Regions from separate parts of the Homo sapiens genome. Here all the other regions are linked to region 3. Evidence: promoter capture Hi-C in 16 types of primary human blood cells and fetal thymus (Javierre and others, 2016). All regions are on one chromosome and are shown on one strand. The core of a region is centred on a gene start or on the middle of the fragment in contact, and the rest is flanking DNA. Distances in the headings are between cores, read along the strand shown.

Evidence for each region. The method cuts DNA at HindIII sites, captures the fragments that hold promoters and counts their contacts. A CHiCAGO score of 5 or more calls a contact.
Region 1: a contact is called between a fragment that was not itself captured here and the fragment with the promoter of XNDC1N in region 3, in 2 of 17 cell types (fetal thymus and non-activated CD4 T cells). The highest score is 6.2, in fetal thymus.
Region 2: a contact is called between a fragment that was not itself captured here and the fragment with the promoter of XNDC1N in region 3, in 1 of 17 cell types (total B cells). The highest score is 5.8, in total B cells.

What each region holds. Positions count from the first base shown.
Region 1 is chr11:72,037,222-72,041,036 of GRCh38, reverse strand. All of the region lies in intron 2 of NUMA1 (nuclear mitotic apparatus protein 1), which reads left to right. Among named protein-coding and RNA genes, the nearest start is that of NUMA1-AS1, 25 kb to the right of the region's middle. RefSeq lists enhancers at 1-244, 725-804. The HindIII fragment of the contact is 1,004 bases long and covers 749-1,752 here.
Region 2 is chr11:71,991,180-71,994,996 of GRCh38, reverse strand. It overlaps RNF121 (ring finger protein 121), which reads right to left. Exons shown (of 9, transcript NM_018320.5): 7 at 145-278. Among named protein-coding and RNA genes, the nearest start is that of IL18BP, 5.8 kb to the left of the region's middle. RefSeq lists enhancers at 3,201-3,260, 3,441-3,490. The HindIII fragment of the contact is 1,494 bases long and covers 1,176-2,669 here.
Region 3 is chr11:71,927,115-71,930,583 of GRCh38, reverse strand. XNDC1N (XRCC1 N-terminal domain containing 1, N-terminal like) reads left to right here and starts at 1,990. Exons shown (of 6, transcript NM_001375847.2): 1 at 1,990-2,219. RNF121 (ring finger protein 121) reads right to left here and starts at 1,538. Exons shown (of 9, transcript NM_018320.5): 1 at 1,460-1,538. The coding sequence starts at 1,522. XNDC1N-ZNF705EP-ALG1L9P (XNDC1N-ZNF705EP-ALG1L9P readthrough) reads left to right here and starts at 1,990. Exons shown (of 11, transcript NR_172895.1): 1 at 1,990-2,219. RefSeq lists an enhancer at 1,848-2,157. The HindIII fragment of the contact is 13,024 bases long and covers 1,725-3,469 here.

The DNA.
Region 1 (3,815 bases), core at 1-2,500, 110 kb before region 3:
CCCTTCCTCCTCTCCTTTCAAGATTTAAATGCTAATGGCGGATTAAAACCTGTAGATACGTTTGGCTTTAGGAGTCTGGTAAGGCCCCCCCGCACCGAGACTTTTTCTCCCTCACTCTTTCTCTGGGTTTTTGTTCAAACATGGACGAGGGGGTGGGGTGGATTCTCCCCCCTCACCTCCCTTTCCTGCGCCATCCTTAAAGGGGAGGGAGAGAAGAGGGAGAGCAAGTAAACATACTCAGAAACAGGCGCTGTGGAGCAGAGCTTGCCAACATCCGGGAGTTGGCGCCTTTCAGAGCAAAGGGTTGCTTTCTTTCCCCCTTGCGTAGATGTCAGCATGTTTTTGTTCAGAGAAGGAAAGCGTGTTTGCCTGCACGTTGAGCTGTAGAGACAGCTCAGGAGAGGGCTTCACCATTTCTGCGTGAGGCCGTGGGTGTGTGCACGGTGGTGGGCAGTGAAAAAAGGTTCATTTTGTCAGCTGATAGGGACCAGGGTGTGTGAATATAGTGGTGGGGGGCCCAGGTCAGTGTGTGTGTGTGTGTGTGTGTGTGTGTGTGTGTGTGTGTGTGTGTGTGTGTGTGTGTGTGTGTGTATGTGTACGCGCCCCAGTACAATACATGGCTGCAGGCCTGGTTGCAGGTCTGGTTCCTGATTGCAGCTCTTTTGCCATCATCCTGATCTGGACCCTCCAGAGAACGGGGAGAAGGGGCAGACATCTGTAAGCCACTTTTGAAGAAACCAGAGAAGCTTGGTTTCCTCTGTAATCCCTCCCTTGTTCCTCTCCAGGGCTTTGGGGTTCTGTGCCAAACTCTAGGCTACAAAGATGGAGTGGTCTGTGTGAAGAGGAGGCTTCAGCCCAAGCTAGTCCCTTTAGATGGACCAAACTGGTTTGCCCCGACCTCAGGAAACTCTTTGGACTTGGACCAGACGGTCTACCCAGGACTCCCCAGGAATTGAGAAAGATTGTTTTTCTCTGTATGGCGTCTCTTGGAGCCACTGGTCCTCTTGCCTTTTATCTTCTCAGAGGCAGGGGATGTACCAGCAAAGTATTTCCTATGCTGTTTTTATAGCTTATTAGCCTAGGGCAAGGTGGCTTGGCCCCTCTGGGTAACCTGCCAGGTGAGATCTCGGTGTTTGCTTGCATGTGCCTCCTGGCCTATCCGTCCTAGAGTTGGAGGAGGAGGAGCCCCAAGATCAGGGTTTTCACTCTTTGGATGTGAGTGTCTCTCAGATGGGGAGTATCTTTCTAAGAAAGGGGTACAGAGCATGGAATTCTTAGGCTACAGGCAGGCAGCGTCTCAGGGTAAGTGGTGGTAAATTTTGCAAGTGAGCACTGGCGCACAGATGGGGCAGCCATTTCCTTTGTGAGCTGTGAGGCTGTAGGCCTTTGGAACTATCAGGTGGAGAAGGGGGTGGGGTTCTGGGAAGGACCCTTTGAGGTGGGAGCTTGTGTGGGCTTTGGGCCCTGAAATTCTGGGAGTGGGAGTTAGCACTAAGAGAATGAGGGTTCAGCAGAAGCAAGGGCCCATGAGCTGAGAGATCGGTATAGTTTAACAACTCTCTGGGACCAAAGGTCACTTTGGTGTTATCTTGAGGTAGGTCTGGTGTTCCCTTGATGGGCAGTAAGTGGCTAAGAGGCAGTCTCAAAGGAGCTGGCACCCAGGCCAAGGGCGGGGTAAGGAGAGCAGTGCTGCTGCAGCTCAGACCCTCTGGCCTTTGGCCTATCACTTGTTCTGTACTTAAAACTGAAGCTTTTTCAGAACAGACTTCAGAGCTCAGCAACTTGACCCTCTGGTCCTGCTTCTTGTGTCTGAGCAGGTGGTTTACATTAGCCTCAGCCCTGGTAGGAAATCATGGCTAGGCTTTAACTCTTTAAGGTCCAGAGAGGGTACAGGCAGAGTGGCTGCGTGTCTCTTTAGTGTCACTTTCCTTATCTTGATATTTATTTTCTGGAAACAGGGGTTACTGTAAATGTGGGAATTTGTCCTGATGTGGGGGAGCTGCATTGTGTCAGTTTGGGAAATGTAAAAAGGATGCAGGGCCTTAAGTTTATAACGCAACTGCTTCTGTGTCCTTGGTTACTTCTTGAGACCAGGGAAAAGAGAGGGTGCCTTACCAGCTCGGTGAGGCCTCTGTTTTAGATTCTGGGGGAATTTCTTTCTCAGAGAATCAGGTAGATGGGAACTCCAAAGGTGCCCTCAGAGGGCCTGGCCTTTTGTTTCTTTGTTTATTGAGTGAGGGTTGTGGGGGGGACGGGGGGTGCCTGATCCAGCTGGGGTGGATCTCAGCAGATCCTTCTGTGAAATGGTTCCAGGCTACAATCGCAAGGATCTGTTTTTCCATCAGCATCACCCAGTGTACTGGGTGGGGCCTGCCTCAGATTTCAGGGGGAGGGTGGGGAGGATGGTACTCTGGCTGGGAGCCCTTGGGTTCCCAGCCAAAGTCTGCTTAAAGCTATAGTCCCAATGTAGAAGACTTAGCTGTGCTCCTGGCTTCAGTCATTCCTTACCCAGAGAAGAGGGAATGGCTGGGGCTCTCCTGAAGCCTCTCTCACCCTGATGTTCTGTCTCTAGGAAAGTACCTCTTTACAGGCTTAGAACTGAAGAGCAGACAAGGTCCTTCAGGAGTTCCTAGTGGTGAATATTGGGTTCCTCGTATTTCTGTGCCTGGGGAACACAGAAAAGAATATTTAGCCTTGACACTCATTTTCTTGAACAGTGGAACTAGTTTTAGACAGGCTCTCCTGGGAGGACCTCAGGGTTGTATGTTTTGCCTCTGAGATGAAGAGGTTGGTTAAACCTCAGGACATTTTTAGTAGCACAGCTGTGAGTCTTTCAAAGGGGGCAAGATCTGCCTACAGTTGCAGATAAAATTTCGAAGTGTTGGGCCTCATCAAAAGGACTGCAAGTCTATAGGCAGCAGTGAGGATGGGGGAGCGGTGATCTCAGCCTCATTCCTTGTGATTTAATAGCTCAGAGGCCTTTTTTTTAAAGAAACCCCAGTTGAGTGTCTGGCTGTTGCCGCCCCACCACAGAGCCAAGTGTGGTCCCTCGAGCTTTAGTCTTGTCAGCCACAGAAAAGCCTTATTGCAGTGCAGTAGTTGGGGCTATCTGCATCCATCCATGCCTGGCCTCAAGGGCTACATAATCTTGCCCATGGATAGGGTATACTTGATGATAATTATCCAAGACTGAGGAACATAAGCCCCTTAGCTTTTCTGCCCTCCTGAGAGCTCTCTTAACCATTTCATTTGCCCTTGCCAAAGCCCAGGTGAATTGGCTCAATTCCAAGACTGATGCTGGTATGACATGTGGAATCATGTTGGATGTTGCAGGGTCAGGAAGCACTTAATTGTAATTAGCATTTAGTTATATTTAGCATTTAATTATTTTCTTCTGTTAGTGCTTCACATATGTTTAATTTTACTCCCTACCCTGCTATAAGCCCCTCAAAGGCAAGGACCATGTCATTGTCTCCCATTTTCCATGTGGCTTCTAGCACAGGATGATCTTTTTTTTTATTATTTTTTTTTGAGACGGAGTCTCGCTCTGTCACCCAAACTGGAGTGCAGTGGTGCGATCTCGGCTCACTGCAAGCTCCGCCTCCCGGGTTCACGCCATTCTCCTGCCTCAGCCTCCCGAGTAGCTGGGACTACAGGCGCCCGCCACCATGCCCAGCTAATTTTTTTGTATTTTTAGTAGAGACGGGGTTTCACCATGTTAGCCAGGATGGTCTCGATCTCCTGACCTTGCGATCCACCCGCCTTGGTCTCTCAAAGTGCTGGGATTACAGGCGTGAGCCACTGCTCCCAGCGAG
Region 2 (3,817 bases), core at 673-3,172, 64 kb before region 3:
GGTAGGGAAGGTGGCCCTCTTGTGGCTCTCCTACACTCAAGGGTCTGGACAGCATGCCTAGGGTCATGACCACCCTCTTTCTCTCTCTCACTACAGTGTGCAGATTGCAGGAGAGATGTGGCCCAGGAGCTCGAGGCAGGATACACATGATTGCAGGACAGCCTATACGTGTTCTCAATGATCCCCTCTTCACTGACGTCCACAAAGATCTGCTGCCCACACACAGCACACACACTGTCTGAAAGATGTTTGGTAGGCATGCCCGACTCGCTGTAGAACTGAAGGAGAATAGCAGGAAGGAAAGATAGGAAAAGATGTGAGAAGCAGCCAAAGTAGGAAGCTCCACAGAGACCTCAGGCCTTCTAGAGAAGAGGCACAGTGGCAGCGGGAGGCCCAGAGTTAGAGGACATCTTTTTTTTTTTAAACTGTTTAGAAAAGGTAATCTTTTACAAGTCAAATCGACCTCATCTTTGCTGGGCAGATGGGGAGAAGTGACCAGACTAGAGACAGTTGGGAAGTTAGATGTAACAGAACCTATAAACTGGGCTGGATCAGCACCAAAGGATAAGGGGAAGGGGAGGGAGAAGGACTTGGGGCTGGTGATCAAAAGCTGTGTCAGGCAAGCCATTCTGTCGCCAGACTATGGTTCCACCAGAAATGGACAACAATATTCTCCAACATTTAAAACAGTGAAATATTAAGTGCCATGTTGGTTTGGTGACAAGGGCATTCTCAGACATTTGTGGCAGCAGCAAAAGGGGTTCAAGCCTTTCAGATAGGATTTAGCATGGTATCTCAAATTGTTGCACCTTTTGACCCATTAATTTCACTTCAAGGAATTTAAAGAAATAAGAGGAGGCTGGGCGCGGTGGCTGACGCCTGTAACCCCAGCACTTTGGGAGGCCAAGGAGGGCGGATCACGAGGTCAGGAGATCGAGAGCATCCTAACTAACACAGTGAAACCCCGTCTCTACTAAAAATACAAAAAATTAGCCAGGCATGGTGGGGGGCGCCTGTAGTCCCAGCTACTCAGGAGGCTGAGGCAGGAGAATGGCGTGAACCCGGGAGGCAGAGCTTGCAGTGAGCCGAGATCGCACCACTGCACTCCAGCCTGGGCAACAGACCGAGACTCCATCTCAAAAAAAAAAAAAAAAAGAGGAAGTGTCAAAGAAGCTTCATGAATACAGATATTCACTTAAGCATTATCATAATTAAGAAAGCAAAGAGTTTGGCATGTCCTCAAAAAGTTAAACATAAAATTACCAAATGACCAAGCAATTCCATTCTCGGTATAAACCCAAAAGATATGAAACTAGGGACTAAACACACTTAAACGCCAGTGCTCACAGCGTTACTCACAGTAGCCAAAAAGTGGAAACAACTCAAGTGCCTATCCACAGATGAATGAATAAACCAAATGCGGTGTCACACACAATGGAATACTATTCAGCCATATAAAGGAATGATACATTCTATACATGGATGAACTCTGAAAACACTACGCTAAGTGAAAAAAGCCAAAGGGACAAATATTGTATGATTCCATTTACATGAAATATCTACAATAGGCATGTTCACAGAGATGGAAAGTATATTAGAGGTAAACCAGGGCTGTGGGAAGGGGTAATGAGTTACTGCTTAATGGGCAGAGTTTCTGTTTGGGATGAAGAAAAATTTTGGAATTAGACAGTGAAAATGTTGCAGAACACTGCAAATGTAATTAATGCATGAATTGTATACTTCAAAATGGTCAAAATGGTGACATGGTCTAGAAATCTCTTCTGGGGAGTAAACTGGTTAAAGGAAGATCCAATGTCTACACAAATAGGTAAGAGGGAAATGAAGGTAAAGCACAAGACAGTTGTTCAAAAAGGAACCTAATAAACTGTCAATAAAGTGATCCAATGTACTGTTTTCAATTTGATCCAGTAGAGAAAAAATTAGAATATTCCCATGATACTGAGGGACAAAGTCCCTGGCCTTAAACGGTACTAGATTAAAGTTACCCAAGGTGATGGAAATATTCCTTCTTGGGGTGGGGTCTTGGGGGATGACACTGAGACAGGGAGCACTTCTGTGTTGTTTAAATAATTACAAAGAGAACATACTACTTTTATAAACAGCAAAACAATAAAGATATATTTCCATTCTGAAAAAAAAAATAGAAATATTTACTTGCGTTTCTCAGATTGGCTGTTAATTTACCCATATTTAAGCATCTCTCCGTGATGTCCACCTGCTGCTCTTGCAGCATTTCCTATCTCAGTGAAAGGTACTACCATCCAAGCAGTTGCCGAATCAGAAATCTCAGCTTTGAAACCTATATTTCCTTTGTATTTTTCCCTTCAGTCTTCAGAACCAAACTATATCTAAGTCCAAAATACTTCTCAAATACAGTATGTCCTCACTTCACTGACAGTTTCTTGGAAACTGTGACTTTAAATGAAACGACATATAACAAAACCAATTTTACCACAGGCTAATTGATAGAAACAAGAGTTCAGTTCCTGTGTCATATTTCTGTCACAAAGACATCACTAAACCTCTATTTAAGAGACACCAAATTGTCTCTTAAGTAAAGACTCAAAACACTTTTAATATTAAATGTTGAAATGAAATGTGTAGCTTTACACATACAGTTAAAGATTAACAAAGCAAGTATGAAAGCTTCCCCAATTTTTGGTAAAGCAGTAAGTGACAGTGGCTGTTGTTGTAGCGGCTGTGGGTTAAATCAAGGAATAAGAGTTCACAAAGTAAAAATTGTAAGGAGCAACTCCTACCACTGTGCAGTTCAAAAACAATTACCAATATGGACTAAGCACTTTTGTGCCCCATCATTTATTGTTGTGCCTTTGCATGATTATTATACATTTTGTGAATTTTTACTTATTTAGAGACAACGTCTTGCTCTGTTGCCCAGGCTGGAGTTTGGTGGCATGAACAAGCTCACTGCAAGGCTCAAGTGACTTCCCACCTTGGTCTCCAAAGTAGCTGGGACTACAGGCATGTGCCACCACGCCCGGCTAGGTTTTTTTTTTTTTTGTCTCATTTTTTTGTAGAGATGGGGTCTCACTATGGTGCTCAGGCTGGTCTTGAACTCCTGGGCTCAAGCAATCTGCCTGCCTCAGCCTCCCAAAGTGAGCCACTGTGCCCGGCCCCTCCCAGGATTTTTAGCATAAAAATCAAAATCTTTAATTTGGCCCACAGGCTTTTTTCTAGTCTAGTCACTACTTCTCCAGGCACTTCTTGGCCATACAACCGCAATGGTCTTAGTTCCTCAAAAACACCCACACTTTCTCCCGTGACAGGACTCTTATGAATGCTCTTTCCTCTGCCTGGTTCTCACTTCATCCACTTAACTGCTATTCATTGTTCAAGTCAGCTCCATAGTCACTTCTTCAAGGAAGCCATCTTTGAGCCCCAAGACTAGGTCAAATGACACTACTACATGTGTTTACAGCATCATGAACCTTTCCTACATAATGCTTATTAAAGTTGTAATTTTATTTTTATCTGTGTTTGTTACTGTAATAGCCATCTCTCCCACCTAAGAGTAAAGTTTATCTGGGCAAAAACCATGTTTATTTTTGTACACTTTTGTAATTCTGGCATATAGCTATGTGTCTAGACACATAGCAGGCATTAAAAAGTATCTACTGAATGAATGTTAACTTCCTGCTGGATAAAGTGGCTCTTTCCTATAATGGCCCTAAAGAGAAAAATTATAGGGTACATCTGAGATCTGGCTAATTTTTTTTTTAATAATTTCAACTTTTATTTTAGATTCAGAGGGTACATGTGCAGGTTTGTTACATGG
Region 3 (3,469 bases), core at 741-3,240:
CCACCTAACCAACCAACTGGTATCCAAACACCTGTAGTCTCTAGTGATTGGGAGGTAGAAGACTACAACACTTCTTTAAAAATCCCCCTGCTGTGATCACCTGTCAATTTCTCAGTCCCTTCCTCCCACCTTAATGATCCCAATCAGGTAATCCAACTCCTCCAACTCATCCCACTACCAGGCAACAGTCTTATTGCTTCCCAAGTCCACTTCTCCCTTTCTCTGAACCTCATCTTCAATCATCCCCAATCCTCCCCACTCTTCCCACACCCAACACACAGCAAGGGGCCTCTAAGATTCTGACCCCTCAGAGATCTCACTGGTTCTATCTCTGACAACCAATCCCCTTCCTCCTATTCCTGTGATGTCTTTGCCCATATGCTGGCATGTGCAAGATCACAAACACCACTAGCTATCAATGTCTCCATGGCTTCAGAATCTTTTCACCTCTGTCTCTGCTTCTCTGCCCTGTCCCTTCATTCCTTTCACACTCAACATCTCCTTCCTCCTAGTGATTCCTTCAAGGACCACTGGTATTTTAATACACCAGTCTTTAAATGCCTATTAGATAGGTAAAGGGAACATACAATCTCAAGGAGCTCACCTTCAAGGAACTCATAAATCCAGAAGAAGAGAGAGACACTTATTTATCGTTTAAAACTCAGCAACTCCGGGAAGCCTTCCCTATCCCAAGCTGAAATGTTGCACACTTCTCAGTGCCACCATTATATCTCTAATGCAATGACTAGTCTTCTTGTCTGTCTCCCACCACTAGACTGTGGGCTCTTCAACGGAGGGGCCCCTTGTCTCCCTAGCACCTGGCCCAGAACCCGGAGCAAAAGTCATAATGTTTATTAAGTGAATAAATGCATGAATTCCGGCATACAATCATTTATTCATCCACTTGTTCCTTCATTCGTTGGCCAAAACTTTACTGAGCATGCATTAGATACAAAGTCTTAGAATGGAACGATAAATAAAACAGTTCCAACTTTAAGATAACTCAAAGCTATACTACTAGTGGATTAGCACTCTTTCCCGGTCTGTGTCCCCAACCCCCACCCTAGGCTTAGACAGAGTCCTCTCCCACAGTAGAAGCCCAGCCTTCCCCTGAAGAAATTCACGTCCCTCCAACTCAAACTACCTCTTAGCCCTTCGGTCCTACCCTAAGACACCCAGCTAGTAATCACAAAATCTTAACACCCCCACCCCTCCGACCTCTCTCTCTGTCCTCCATCTTCACCCTTGAGGCTAATGCAAGTCTTCTACTCCCAAGGCCGCCTCGGAGTCCCCAAGTCAGGAGTGCCTCTGACTTCGCTCTCCACGCACCCGCCCCCTAGTCAGCTCCTTCCCTCTCAGGATCTTTCCCTTCTCTCCTAAGACCCCCACCTCCCGATACCTCACTGCCCCTCCCCTCAGTCTCAGGTTGAGTCTCTCCTCGTCTCTCAACTCCGCTTACCTCATCCAGCTCCCGTTCCCCAGCAGCACCACCTCCAACCTCCACCTCCACCACTGCCGCCATCTTCACGGCTCGCCCCCTCACCGCAGTCCCCGCGCGAGCCAGCTGCTTCCGCTGCTCAAGTGCTCCTAGCCAATCGGCGGCTCGGACTCCAGCAGAGGGGGCGGGGCATCAACACAGGCGGAGACTGTCAGGGATCAGGAGGTTATCTACTTGCTGCACGTTTCAGGGTCAAGGAGAGGGGAGTACCGTGCCCTTGCAAGCTTCAGCAAGGGAGCGTTCTTGGAAAATGAGAAATTTGAATCGCATTATTTTCAGTGCAACTATTTAACCAATTCTTCCCTTTGGAGAGCCAAATGGGAGCGTTCCAAAACGGGCAACTTTCGCGACGCTCCCTCAGTCTGGGCTCCAAGGAGCGAGACGTGGGGACTAGGAACTACGTTTCCCAAGCTGCACTGAGGCTGACCCGGAAGTTTAAATTCCGCTCCCTCCACGAAAGAGTTGTAGTGAGTGAAAATAAATATTAAAACACACGGAAATGTATTTTCCTGGCTGCAGCACCTGCCATCTTGCCTCGGTAGGACTCATTTTCAAAAACAGCAGCTTCTTGAAGCCCCAGAACGCATTCCTGTGCTACGGAAGACGGAAGAGTAGCTCTCGGGGTCAGAAGGCGAAGGTCAGAAGGCCGAATTGGCGGGAGAATAGGTTTGGTGGTCCGAGATCCGAGGCAACGGTGGCTCCTCGAGGTCCACGGTCCCGGGTGAGGGGCGTTGGGATTTGTTGATGGGGAGGGGAGTGGCCGAGAGGGAGGAGGGTGGCCATCAAGGAAATGAACTGAGCAGCCTGTTCCCGATGAGCTGTGAAAGCAGCGGTGCGGCTTGAGCTCCCGAAACTGAGAGCTGAAGAGCCTTGCGGGACCTCCAGGGCACCCACATTCCGCGTCTTACTTAGGCTGTCATGCCAGTTCACACACCTCGGCACACTTTTCTAACCCACATCCTGCGGCCCCAGCTTCTGCCTTACCCTCCTTTTTATACACCATTCACTGTCCCACCCCTACGTATACCTTCATAACTGATTTTTCAGCAGCCGGTGAACTCGATACCTTGCAAGCCTGTAGCCCCAGCTCACACGCCTCTGGGCGTCCGCCTGGATCTGTCTGGTGAATGGAACTAGGATGGCCTGTGAGCCCACAGAACGTCTAGAAAAGTCAGCTTTACATTGGGACCAACAGAAAATTACAGGGAATTATCTACATCATCCACAGGCATCCCATTTACTTAAAAATAATCATTTTTATTTTGTGACACTTAATACGGAGAATATTGTAAATACTGTACACCCATCACCCTAAATTGACTACTGGCATTATGATTTATTTGCTTATTTTTTAAAAGCTAGATAATACAATAAAAGTTAAACTTACCTGTTTTTTCTACTCTCAAGCCTATTACCCTCTCATCCTCTCCAGAAGCAACTATTATGAATTAGAATTAGCTTGTGTTCTCCCAGTCCATTTTTAATAATTATATGTAGCCATGACTATATAGTATTGTATTGTGTTTCATTTTGTTTTTTAATCTGAGTGCTTTTTTTTTTTCTTTGAAACGGTGTCTCGCTGTGTTACCAAGGCTGGAATGCACTGGTTCAATCTGGGCTCACTGCAGCCTCCGCCTACTGGGTTCAAACGATTCTCATGTCTCAGCCTCCCAAATAGCTGGGACTACGTACGCGCCACCACGCCTGGGGAAATTTCATATTTTTAGCAGAGATGGGGTCATGGCCATGGTCTCGAACTCCTGACCTTAAGTGATCCACCCGCCTCGGCCTCCCAAAGTGCTGGGATTACAGGTGTGAACCACTGTGCCCAGCCTGAGTGATACAGGGTCCGGCTCTGTCGCCCAGGCTGGAGTGCAGTGGCGTGATAACTGCTCACTGTAGTCTCATCTCCCAGGCTCAAGCAATTCTCCCACCTCAACCTTGTGAGTACCTGGGACTATAGGCATGTGC